Linked DNA regions of Homo sapiens: regions 1 and 2 are each linked to region 3. Evidence: promoter capture Hi-C in 16 types of primary human blood cells and fetal thymus (Javierre and others, 2016). All regions are on one chromosome and are shown on one strand. Each heading gives the region's core, a stretch centred on a gene start or on the middle of the fragment in contact. The rest is flanking DNA. Distances are from core to core; before and after follow the strand shown. Region 1 has its middle 27 kb from the start of UBAC2-AS1. Region 2 overlaps TM9SF2 (transmembrane 9 superfamily member 2). Region 3 holds the start of GPR183 (G protein-coupled receptor 183).

Region 1 (3,830 bases), core at 767-3,266, 130 kb before region 3:
TTTCTCTCTGGCTGCCCTTAACATTTTTTCCTTCATTTGAACCTTGGTGAATCTGACAATTATGTGTCTTGGGGTTGCTCTTCTCGAGGAGTATCTTTGTGGTGTTCTCTGTATTTCCTGAATTTGAATGTTGGCTTGCTTTGCTAGCTTGGGGAAGTTCTGCTGGGTAATATCCTGAAGAGTGTTTTCCAACTTGGTTCCATTCTCCCCATCACTTTTAGGTACACCAGTCAAATGTAGATTTGGTCTTTTCACATAGTCCCATGTTTCTTGGAGGCTTTGTTCATTTCTTTTTACTCTTTTTTCTCTAACCTTGTCTTCTCGCTGTATTTCATTAATTTGATCTTCAATCCCTGTTACCCTTTCTTCCACTTGATCGAATCAGCTATTGAAGCTTGTGCATGCGTCATGAAGTTCTCGTGCCATGGTTTTCAGCTCCATCAGGTCATTTAAGGTCTTCTCTACACTGTTTATTCTAGTTAGTCATTCACCTAACCTTTTTTCAAGGTTTTTAGCCTCCTTGCGATGGGTTCAAACATACTCCTTTAGCTCAGAGAAGTTTGTTATTACCAACCTTCTAAAGCCTACTTCTGTCAAGTCGTCAAAGTCATTCTCCATCTGGCTTTGTTCCATTGCTAGCGAGGATCTGCAATCCTTTGGAGGAGAAGAGGCACTCCGATTTTTAGAATTTTCAGCTTTTCTGCTCTGGTTTCTCCCTATCTTTGTGGTTTTATCTACCTTTGGTCTTTGGTGTTGGTGACCTACACATGGGGTTTTGGTGTGGATGTCTTTTTTGTTAATGTTGATGCTATTGCTTTCTGTTTGTTAGTTTTTCTTCTAACAGTCAGGTCCCTCAGCTACAGGTCTATTGGAGTTTGCTGGAGGTCCACTCCAGACCCTGTTTGCCTGGGTATCACCAGTGGAGGCTGCAGAACAGCAAATATTTCAGAACAGCAAATATTGCTGCCTGATCCTTCTTCTGGAAGCTTCGTCCCAGAGGGGCACCCACCTGTCGGCTCCTACTGGGAGGTGTCTCCGAGTCAGGATACACGGGGGTCAGGGACCCACTTGAGGAGGCAGTCTGTCCGTTCTCAAACGCTGTGTTGGGGAGAACCACTGCTCTCTTCAGAGCTGTCAGACAGGGATGTTTAAGTCTACAGAAGTTGTCTACTGCCTTTTGTTCAGCTAAGCCCTGACCACAGAGGTGGAGTCTAGAGGCAGTAGGCCTTATTGAGCTGTGGTGGGCTGCACCCAGTTTGAGCTTCCCGGTCGCTTTGTTTACCTACTCAAGCCTCAGCAATGGCAGACGCCCTCCCCGAGCCAGGCTGCAACCTCGCTGTTCAATCTCAGACTGCCGCTCTAGCAGTGAGCAAGGCTCCATGGACGTGGGACCCGCCCAGCCAGGCACGGGAGAGAATCTCCTTGTCTGCCGGTTGCTAAGACCTTGGGAAATGCACAGTATTTGGGTGGGAGTGTCTCGTTTTTCCAGGTACAGTCTGTCACAGCTTCCCTTGGCTAGGAAAGGGAAATTCCCCGACCGCTTGCGCTTCCTGGGTGAGGCGACACACCGCCCTGCTTCAGCTCGCCCTCCGTGGGCTGTACCCACTGTCCAACCAGTCCCAGTGAGATGAACCAGGTACCTCAGTTGGAAATGCAGAAATCACCCATCTTCTGCGTCAATCACACTGGGAGCTCCAGACCGGAGCTGTTCCTATTTGGCCATCTTGGAAAGGATCTCAGGAATAATCCATTTTTTAATGGCTTGTGGGAACTTTTAAACCCTGATATAATCTGTGTAGCTGTCTCACTAGCCATCAAAAATCTGTCTTTTCTTTTTCGTGGGGACTTGGAGGTGATCAGCTGCTTCAAGATGAAGCTGATCTTCCCAGCCACAGGCTGCCAGGAGCTCATTGAAGTGGATGATGAACACGAACTTTGGACCAATTTTGAGAAGTGTATTCTGATGCTCTGGGTGAAAAGAACAGAAGGGTTATGTGGTCCAAGACAGTGAGGGGAACAACAAGCAAGTCTCCCCCAAGAAGCAAGATGTCCTGACCATGGCCGTGCCCATGTGCCATTGCGTAAGGGGCATTCTTGTTAGAGACCAAGGAGAACTGGAGAAAGGAGGCACAAGTCTGCTGGGTGTGGTGGCTCTTGCCTGTGATCCCAGCTACTAGGGAAACTGAGGTAAGAGGATTGCTTGAACCCAGGAGTTCAAGGCTGCAATGAGCTGTGATCACACTACTGCACTCTATCTTGGGTGACAGAGTGAGACCTTTTATCTTAAAAAAATTTTTAAAGAAAATTCAAGTCTGTTCTGGATTGCACTACGGATGCCAATCTGAGTGTTCTCAATTTAACTATCAGCTAAAAAGGAAAGAAGAATATTCCTGGACTGACTGATGCTACTGGGCCTCTATCCTGGGGCTCAGAACAGATAGCAGAATCCACAAACATTTCCATCTTCCTTAAGAAGATCATGAACACCAGTGTTTTGTGAGAAAGCCCCTAAACAAAGAAAGTAAGAGACCTGGGAGTAAAGCACCCAAGATTCAGTCTTGTTATTCCATGTGTCCAGCAACACAAATGTACGTCTATTGCTCTGAAAAAACAGCATATTTAGGAAAATAAGAGGTTGCAGAGCAGAACATGCTGAACTTTTGGTCAAGAGAATGCAGGAGGTCAAACAAATTGCCAAGAACAGATAGCCAAGAGACAGAGCTGTCCTCTTTGATAAATTCTACCTCCAAGTTTAAGTCTTGTCAAAACAAACAAACAAAAAAGAGATTTTTCTAAGAATAACAAACAATAAAATCACACATCAAGAAACAAAACAAACCCCAGCCTGCCTTATTCTTCAGGGCAAAGACTCCCAATTGCCTACCTAATATCCATTCTCTCCTTCTTCCTTTCTAAAAGAACCATGTTTTTGCTCAGGATCGCAAGGCTCCTGACAACTGCATTTCCCAATCGTGCATGTTGGGTTCAGCATGTGACTCAGTTCCAACCAATGAGGTGTGAGTAGAATCATTGGGTGCCACCCCAGGAAAGCTTCTTAAAAGGAGATCAGGGCAGTTGGCATGCCCCTTTCCTCCTCCCTGCCTGGAAGGGGTCCCAATGTCTGGGGGGCAGAAGCCATCTTGGATTCATGAGACCCAAGGCCACACCCCAGTGATGGCAGAGTGAAAGAGAGCAAGATCCTGAATTAGGTGGAGCTGTTGCATCAGCTCTGGGCTGCCTGCCTCCTGACTTGTATTTGGATGGACTATTGTGAGTTGAATTTTCTGTTAAGTGCACCTATTGCCAACCCACAAACCTGCCCTTTGGTTTTCATTATCTCTGCATGTCCCAATCATATCAATGGCTCCCATTGTGTGTTCATTGTATAGCAGGGGACTCAGCGCACCACACAACGTAATATATTGTTAAGACGCATTTATTGACTGTGTGATTCCCAGGTCAGGTTTTATGTTCCTCCTGATATGAGGCAGTGAGAAGTACAAACCATCACCTACAAAGTATATTTGATCTGAATCCAAACATGAAGCAACTATTATACGAATTCAGCATGGAGCGGGGGACAATCTAGTAAACTCACCTGAACCCCAAAAGTTCCATGTGACCAAAAAAACCCAAGAAGGTAGTAGTAAGGGGGTACTATTCTAGATTAAAAGAGGCTAAAGAAAAATAATTAATGAGTAATTAATACCTGGGTGACAAAAGAATCTGTACAACAAAATCCCATGACACAAGTTTACCTATACAATAAACCTACAGGCTGGGTGCAGTGGCTCACGCCTGTAATCCCAGCACTTTGGGAGCCCAAGGCA
Region 2 (3,759 bases), core at 1,201-3,700, 200 kb after region 3:
AGTGCAAGAAGCTTTCACTCCTTTTTGAGGATTCTGACTGAAAGACTGTTGTTGTGCTTCCAAGTGGAAGATCTAGACTTGCAAGTACACTGGTTTTTCCATTAAATATTTTAGTAACCAACCTTTAAGGCCTAGTGTTTGGTCTTACTTTAACAGCAGTTGTATATTCTATTCCTAGTGCCTCAAAGATGAAAAATATATTTCCTGCCCTCTGGGAACCTCAAAGTAAGGGACATAAGCTTATGAACAGATTATTGAAATCTGATCTGTTACACAGGATGATGTCCAAAGTGTGCTAAAACAAAATGAGGAAACATCAGTGGACTAGAGTCTTTAGGGAAAGCTCTATAGAAGAAGTGACAGGGCCAGGTGTGGTGGCTCACGCCTGTAATCCCAACACATTGGGAGGCCGAGGCGGGTGGATCACCTGAAGTCAGGAGTTTAAGACCAGCCTGGCCAATATGGTGAAACCGCGTCTCTACTAAAAATACAAAAATTAGCTGGGCGTGGTGGCGGGCATCTGTAATCCCAGCTACTCGGGAGGCTGAGGCAGGAAGAATCGCTTGAACTCTGGAGGTGGAGGTTGCAGTGAGCTGAGATCGCGCCATTGCACTCCAGCCTGGGCAACAGAGCGAGACTTTGTCTCAAAAAAAAAAAAAAAAAAAAAAAGAAGAAGAAGTGACATTTGAGATGGACTTAGAAAATGAATAAGTGAAACTTATAGGTGGTCTTCCAGTTAGATGATTGTTTTCTCAACAGGTCCTTTGGTAAGTGGCTAGGTTGTATTCTAGTTATTTTTTAGTTAATCTTGGGAGTCATTTTGGATGTTTAATTTTCATAGGTATAGGGATAAAACAGGCAGAGCAGATCATTTTTCCGAAATGTTTGGATTTTTATCTTTATTGCCAGCTACACTCACATCTGGTTAATGGAAACAACTCTTAGAAGAGCAGGAGGGTGTACTTTCAGCTTTTTTCCTGCGATATGACTAACTGGTGTAGAGAATTTGAAATACACTTTAATATTTATTTTCTTTGCCTTTCAAAGAAGATGCTATAAATAACAGTAAACAGTTGAAATTTGTATTACTTCAATCAGGATGTTAATAATTTATTCTCATCTATTTCGTATTTGTTAAGGAGGACAGTCTTGTACACATTATTCAGAAAAGTGGAAGGAACTTCTTTTAAAAATTAGAAATGAGAGTTGTGAAATGGAAATAATTTTTTCCAAAAGATGCTGTTAAGTTAGTGAATCTGAAGTTGGAGAAATTGGGCAGGTCATTGATACTGTTACCAACAGTTTTTCCATCTGTAAAATAGGGATAATCATATTTGATTATGACATATTCCCCTTGAAAGGTATTTTGCATTTCTTAGAGGAAAAGTGCAATATTTGTCATTGTTGTGATAGTGTAGAGATGAAACAAATATATCTTCAACTTATATATAATTTAGGTAGTAGAGTGTTTTTATGTACTGTAAAGTTTGTCTCATGCATTTAGCTCAGGATGTAAATTGAGAGAGAATCAGAAGAATGCTGAGGATTTAGTAATTTTCTCTCTTTAAAAATTATCTTATGTTGAATTTACTGGCAGAGAAACAGGAGTCCAGTGAATATAAAATTCTATTTATATTGCTGTAACTTCTGATTAATTTTCTTAGCCTTCATAGATACTGTGAGTATGTTTTCATGGCCTCCTTTTTTTAACTTATTTTACATGTGCGTGCATTTGGATATTGAGGAGGTGCACATTCTTATTGCTTTTTATAGCCGATACTATTTCATTCTGTTCCTGTACAATCTGTGGTTTGCCTGACCATTCTTACTTGTAGGGCCTTTAGATTGGGCCCAATTTTTCTCTATTATGAATAGCTTTGCTACAGTGTATTTAGCAGTAATTATTTGCATATCCCCAAATATAAAATTCTAGGTAAAGACAAGAAGAAGTTTTTAGTTCTGTTTAGTATTGCCAGATTTCTTTCAACAATGATAGGTTTGATTTCCTTTAACTAAATAATACCTTGTGTTGCCACATCATTTTAATTTTTATTTATCAATTTAATAGTGATGTGATGGTCCCTAAGACTTTTTTTTTTTTTTTTTGAGACGGAGTTTTGCTCTTATCACCCAGGCCGGAGTGCAGTGGCACGATCTTGGCTCACTGTAACCTCCACCTCCTGAGTTTAAGCAATTATCCTGCCTCAGCCCCCTGAGTAGCTGGGATTACAGGCGCCTGCCACCATGCCCGGCTAATTTTTGTATTTTTAGTAGAGATGGGGTTTCACCACGTTGGCCAGGCTTGTCTCGAACTCCTGAGCTCTCAGGTGATTCACCCACTTCAGCCTCCCAAAGTGTTGGGATTGTAGGCGTGAGCCACCACGCCCAGCCTGTACACTTTTTAAATGTTTTACTTTCATTGCTATTGAAATTTCTGTGTCTTTTAATATTTTTCTTTTATTTGCCTTATTTTGTTACGTTTTGAAACCATAGTAATAAAAGATTGAGCTATGGTATTCCTTTCCTGTAGAATTCACTTTACTTTCTTAAAATCAAGGGACACTGTGTGACTGAAATAAGTAGAATAAAGCCCTGATTATAAGTGACTAGATATTCCAGGATAAAATCCACAGTTCTAATTTAGTTTGTAAAAGTTTTGACTATTTCAGTTAGCTTTGTGCTTTTTAGCTTTAAATCAAATCTTAGTGTGCCGAGTGGCATTCTGATGGCTAAGAGGTGAAGATTAGTGAGCAGTTCACCTTTGCTGCTTTCAACTTTCAAGTAATTACTGGGTTGTCAACCAGAATTCAGAACTAAGAACTAAAAATAGTATTAATTCTCCAAAATGTCTGCCACTTTTTTACTGTTTGATGGATAGATCACGTTCTTAGATGAAAGATTAAGATTTTTTTTCCTTTGCTGTAAGGAAAAATGACCAATTATACCCCCTAGTGGTTAAAAACAATGTTTAAATGAATTAGTTTAACAACTTTTTAATAAAAAGGAAAATTACTCAGTCATACTTTCCTTTCTTGGTAGTTATTTTTAGAAGCATTTTATAAGTTGTGTTTGTTATTCTGGGAGCAGTTGTGTATAAATATTGGAATGAGTCAGCTTTAAGAAAATAGTCCTGAATGTTGATCTGAACGGACACAGAATGAATATATATGTACCTGTTTTAATTTGACCATAGAAGTAGTTTGAAGATTTTGAAATACTTAAAGAAAAAAAATCTGTATGTGTATTTATTGGTATAGTGATAAATATTTATCGATATGTAGTTTCACATTCTCACAGTTCTCTCTGGAATAAGAGCATTGATTCTTAGCTTCTGGGAACTCATTAGTGTTTGGGTGTTGCTCTTTCAAATCTGAAATCTGGCACTGGAAGGACTTACTTTGACTATGGTAAATATACATTCCAGCAATTGTTTCTTCTTCTTCTGAAAAGGTATGTTAAACTGAGATAGTTTGCCTTTCAGAAATTAGATTTTTAAGTAAAATTAAGACTGTAATTGTTCATTATAGTGAATCTGAGAGTTAGAATCAAGAAAGCAACAAAAGTCTATGAATAAAATTGTGTCTTTCTGCCTGTGGCCCCTCACCAAAGTGGGTGTAAACTTGAACTTCCAAAGGTGTAAACTGGAACGTCTGAAACAAATCACAGATATATGTTCCACACCTCACACCCCCAACACAAACACACAGACACACATCGGCACTACAGAGATTGGTCTGTGCACTGTCAGCCTTAGAGCCC
Region 3 (3,439 bases), core at 38-2,537:
TCTCGAACTCCTGATCTCAGGTGATCCGCCTGCCTCGGCCTCCCAAAGTGCTGGGATTACAGGAGTGAGCCACCACACCCAGCCTGATTCAGGGTCTTTATGTAAAATATCCATAACATATCTGTTGGATTCACCCTCTGGTACGTCAGTGGCCAGAGAGATGGGAGAAGAATGATGGGAGACAGTTTTTTAGCACTTATAATGAGAGGCAATGTTGTAAGGACTTGGCAGTAGTAATACTCCCCATTTTACAGGTAAAGCAGCTGAAGCCAGATATTAGGTAACTTGTGTGTGGGGGGGCCACACAGCTTGTAAATTTCATTTGATCCTGATTTCAGAGCCCTTGCTCTTATTACACTATATTGTACTCAGAGTGACACCAAAAAAACAAAATACCACGCCCCCCTCCCCCAACACACACACAAACACACATATATAAAACCCTCACTGCCCTTTAAAGGAAGTCTCTTCACAGCTTCTATTTTGCCAAGTTTCTGTTACCACCATTCCCAACCTGGACATAAATGTTGCCAAAGCACTGCATAGAATTCATTGTGATTTTTTCCCCTCAGGCACATAGAAAAGATACGTTTAGTCTAAGTAAACACAAGTATAAACCACACAACAGACTTTTTTTTCACTTATCTAATTAGTAGTATTTAGCATTTAAAAAGCAAAGATTGGTACTCTTTGCTGGCGGGAGGGTAAATTGGTAAAATGTTTTTGTAGACCAAAAAGTACCGTTTTATATCTAAAGCTTTAGAAAATATACCCTTTGCCCTAGGAATTCTACCCCTGAGATTCTATCCTGAGAAATAATCTTATATTTCTAATAATTCCTATAGCATAGGAATATTCTATATTAAAATAACTTTGTTCCTTTTCCTTCATACTAAGTTATCCTGAAATATTGGCATTATTTGCATAGTTTTGCTTGATACTGTCTTTTGTCATTGTGAGTTTATACAGTAGTACATGAAGTGAGCCCTATTTTTTGACAAAGATATTTCTGGTGGACCCATCGCTTTCAGTCAACTTTATAAGAACTAACTAGACCTACCAGTCAGCAGAGAGAGTAAACTTACATTATTAATATAATTTTTGTTAGAAGTGATGGTAGCTTGTTCTTAAATAGATTGTTTTCCTTTTTACCTTTTACCTTAAAACTTAGGCTTTTAAAGTTTTTCTTTAAAAAGTTTGTTGAAAAAGCAAAAGATCTTGTACTTACATATCAGTGACTCGTTCGGGTCTCTGTGTAGTAGCTGTGAGTAGTTGTCCAAACTGAAGTAAGTTTTAACTGTGGCATGTTGTTTTAAGAGAGGCTGTGCAGACCTCCTTTTATGGTGGTGACTTTTTTTTTCTCTGTCACCCTGTGACTGAGCATGTAATGAGCAGTTAGCCTCGTGTACGTGTGTGCACTTTGTGTTTTTTTTTGTTTTAAATGGGAAGTGAAATTTTTTATAGTGATTAAAAAAAACTATCCAAAAGCCCCTTGGAATTTATGAATTGTTGATATCTGTGGAACTTTATAAATTTTTCTGTAAAGGTTTAAGTATCAAAAAATTCTTTGAAAGAGACTGAAGCAATAAACCTTAACCAAAAAAAAGACCAAGTTACTGATGATTTTATATTGATTTTGCATGTAAAAGTATGGGTTTTTAAATGTTTTAAGGAAAATAGTGTCAACTTTGACAGTGCTTTTTACCTGGAAACTTGGTATCAGGGAGTAGTTTACACATTCCACCTTATCCACAGCTTATGAGAAAGAAACAGGTTTCTGTGGCGTGGGGGTGAGTGACAGTCCAGGATGTGGAGTGGACTGGATTAGTCGCCGTTTTCAGTCGAGAGGCTGCCTGAGTCAGAGGCTGTGTGAGTACTTGAATAACAGGGAAACAGTTGAAGGGAGGCCCATTATAGATAAAATCCAGCCTCTTCAGCACAGGGTGAAAGAGACTCATGCCATTCACCTCATAGTTGTAGTTGACTCAGTTTAAACCAACTAACGTGTCTGTCAGAATGCAGTTTATTTGTAGGCTAAATTACCAGATATGTAGCACTCAGATCAGGAGAGGTGATGTTTACACTTAGTCAGGACTGATCTGGCCATTCCCAGCCACTTCTGGGTGCTGCTTTTTACGAAGACATAGATAACACCTGTGGCAGTGAGGGGCCTGGATAGCAGGTCTTAGGAGAACTGATTAAATAAGCTGGGGATGTGTATGCTTTGTAGGCATAGGGTCATTATCCTTATGCTTGTGGAAACTCTCATAGAAAAGTGTTTACATTGCTTGTGTCAGTCTTCCTAACTCCAGAGACTAGCGGGAGGGTCAGTAAGAAGTTACTGGACATAGCTTTTGGATCAAAAGATGAGAGTCATTCCCAAAAGTTGTGATTATTTTGAAAAATGGAATATGCTGTTTCTTATTTAGATGCTTGAGTAAACTTGATGATTTTGAGGGATGATGTAAACAGAATTGAATCATTTGGTAGGAATTTGTAACTCTGTGATCTCAGAAGCCTTTCTGCTCCAGGATTCTGTAAAAATAGTCGAGTAGCTTTTGCCTCCCACAGATGTCATTAGGTTCTTCTAACGTCTAAAGTGCTGTGAGTATGGAGGAACATTGTCAGACACAAGAAAGAGCATCAAGCAAGTCAGCTGAATTCTTTGGGCCGCCACCTCACTGTGTATAAAATAAAGGTATTGAACTAAATGATCTCCAAGGTAATTCCTAGTACAAAAATTCTATGAGGGGGTAATACAGAGATTTTATGACTTGGTGGATAAACATGACATCATATTCTAGAACTAGTTCATTTAAAACTTAGGCTGCAGAGTACTTGAAGAAGACACTGTTGATAAATTTTTCAGTTTGTTGAAAGACCATTCTGGTGGGGTTTTGCCTGTTAATTTTGAAATAGTTATATTAAGTAAAACATTTTTATATAGTGAAGGACTCAGCTAGTTCAAGTAATTCCTCTGACAAACTGGATCTGTCCTCCCAACCTTCTTTTTTTTTTTTGAGACAGAGTCTCGCTCTCACCAGGCTGGAGTGCAGGGGTGTGCTGTCGGCTCACTGCAACCTCCACCTCCCGGCTTCAAGCAATTCTCCTGCCTCAGCCTCCCGAGTAGCTGGGACTACAGGCATATGCCACCATGCCCAGCTAATTTTTGTATTTTTAGTAGAGACAAGGTTTCACCATGTTGGCCAGGATGGTCTCAATCTCTTGACCTCATGATCTGCCTGCATTGGCCTCCCAAAGTGCTGGGATTACAGGTGTGAGCCACCGTGCCCAGCCCCTTTTTTTTGATATCAGAGTAGTCAGGCAGATGAAGAAGAGGTGATGGGGTCATTATCCTGTAAGAGGCCGCTGAAGCTGTATATTAGATCATTTCATGAGCTCACAAACCTTGTTTTTATTGCTGTTGAAAGTTACCAGG

Evidence for each region. Contacts are between HindIII fragments. The CHiCAGO score rates a contact against its expected background, and 5 or more counts as called.
Region 1: a fragment that was not itself captured here is called in contact with the fragment with the promoter of GPR183 in region 3 in 2 of 17 cell types (monocytes and non-activated CD4 T cells); the score reaches 5.9 in monocytes.
Region 2: a fragment that was not itself captured here is called in contact with the fragment with the promoter of GPR183 in region 3 in 1 of 17 cell types (total CD4 T cells); the score reaches 5.3 in total CD4 T cells.

Annotation. Positions count from the first base shown.
Region 1 is chr13:99,171,724-99,175,553 of GRCh38, forward strand. It overlaps the pseudogene RPS6P23. Among named protein-coding and RNA genes, the nearest start is that of UBAC2-AS1, 27 kb to the right of the region's middle. RefSeq lists an enhancer at 942-1,443. The HindIII fragment of the contact is 2,065 bases long and covers 985-3,049 here.
Region 2 is chr13:99,503,064-99,506,822 of GRCh38, forward strand. The region is part of intron 1 of TM9SF2 (transmembrane 9 superfamily member 2); the gene reads left to right. Among named protein-coding and RNA genes, the nearest start is that of TM9SF2, 3.5 kb to the left of the region's middle. The HindIII fragment of the contact is 4,426 bases long and covers 238-3,759 here.
Region 3 is chr13:99,306,112-99,309,550 of GRCh38, forward strand. It overlaps GPR183 (G protein-coupled receptor 183), which reads right to left and starts at 1,288. Exons shown (of 2, transcript NM_004951.5): 1 at 1,229-1,288. The region is part of intron 4 of UBAC2 (UBA domain containing 2); the gene reads left to right. The HindIII fragment of the contact is 4,315 bases long and covers 756-3,439 here.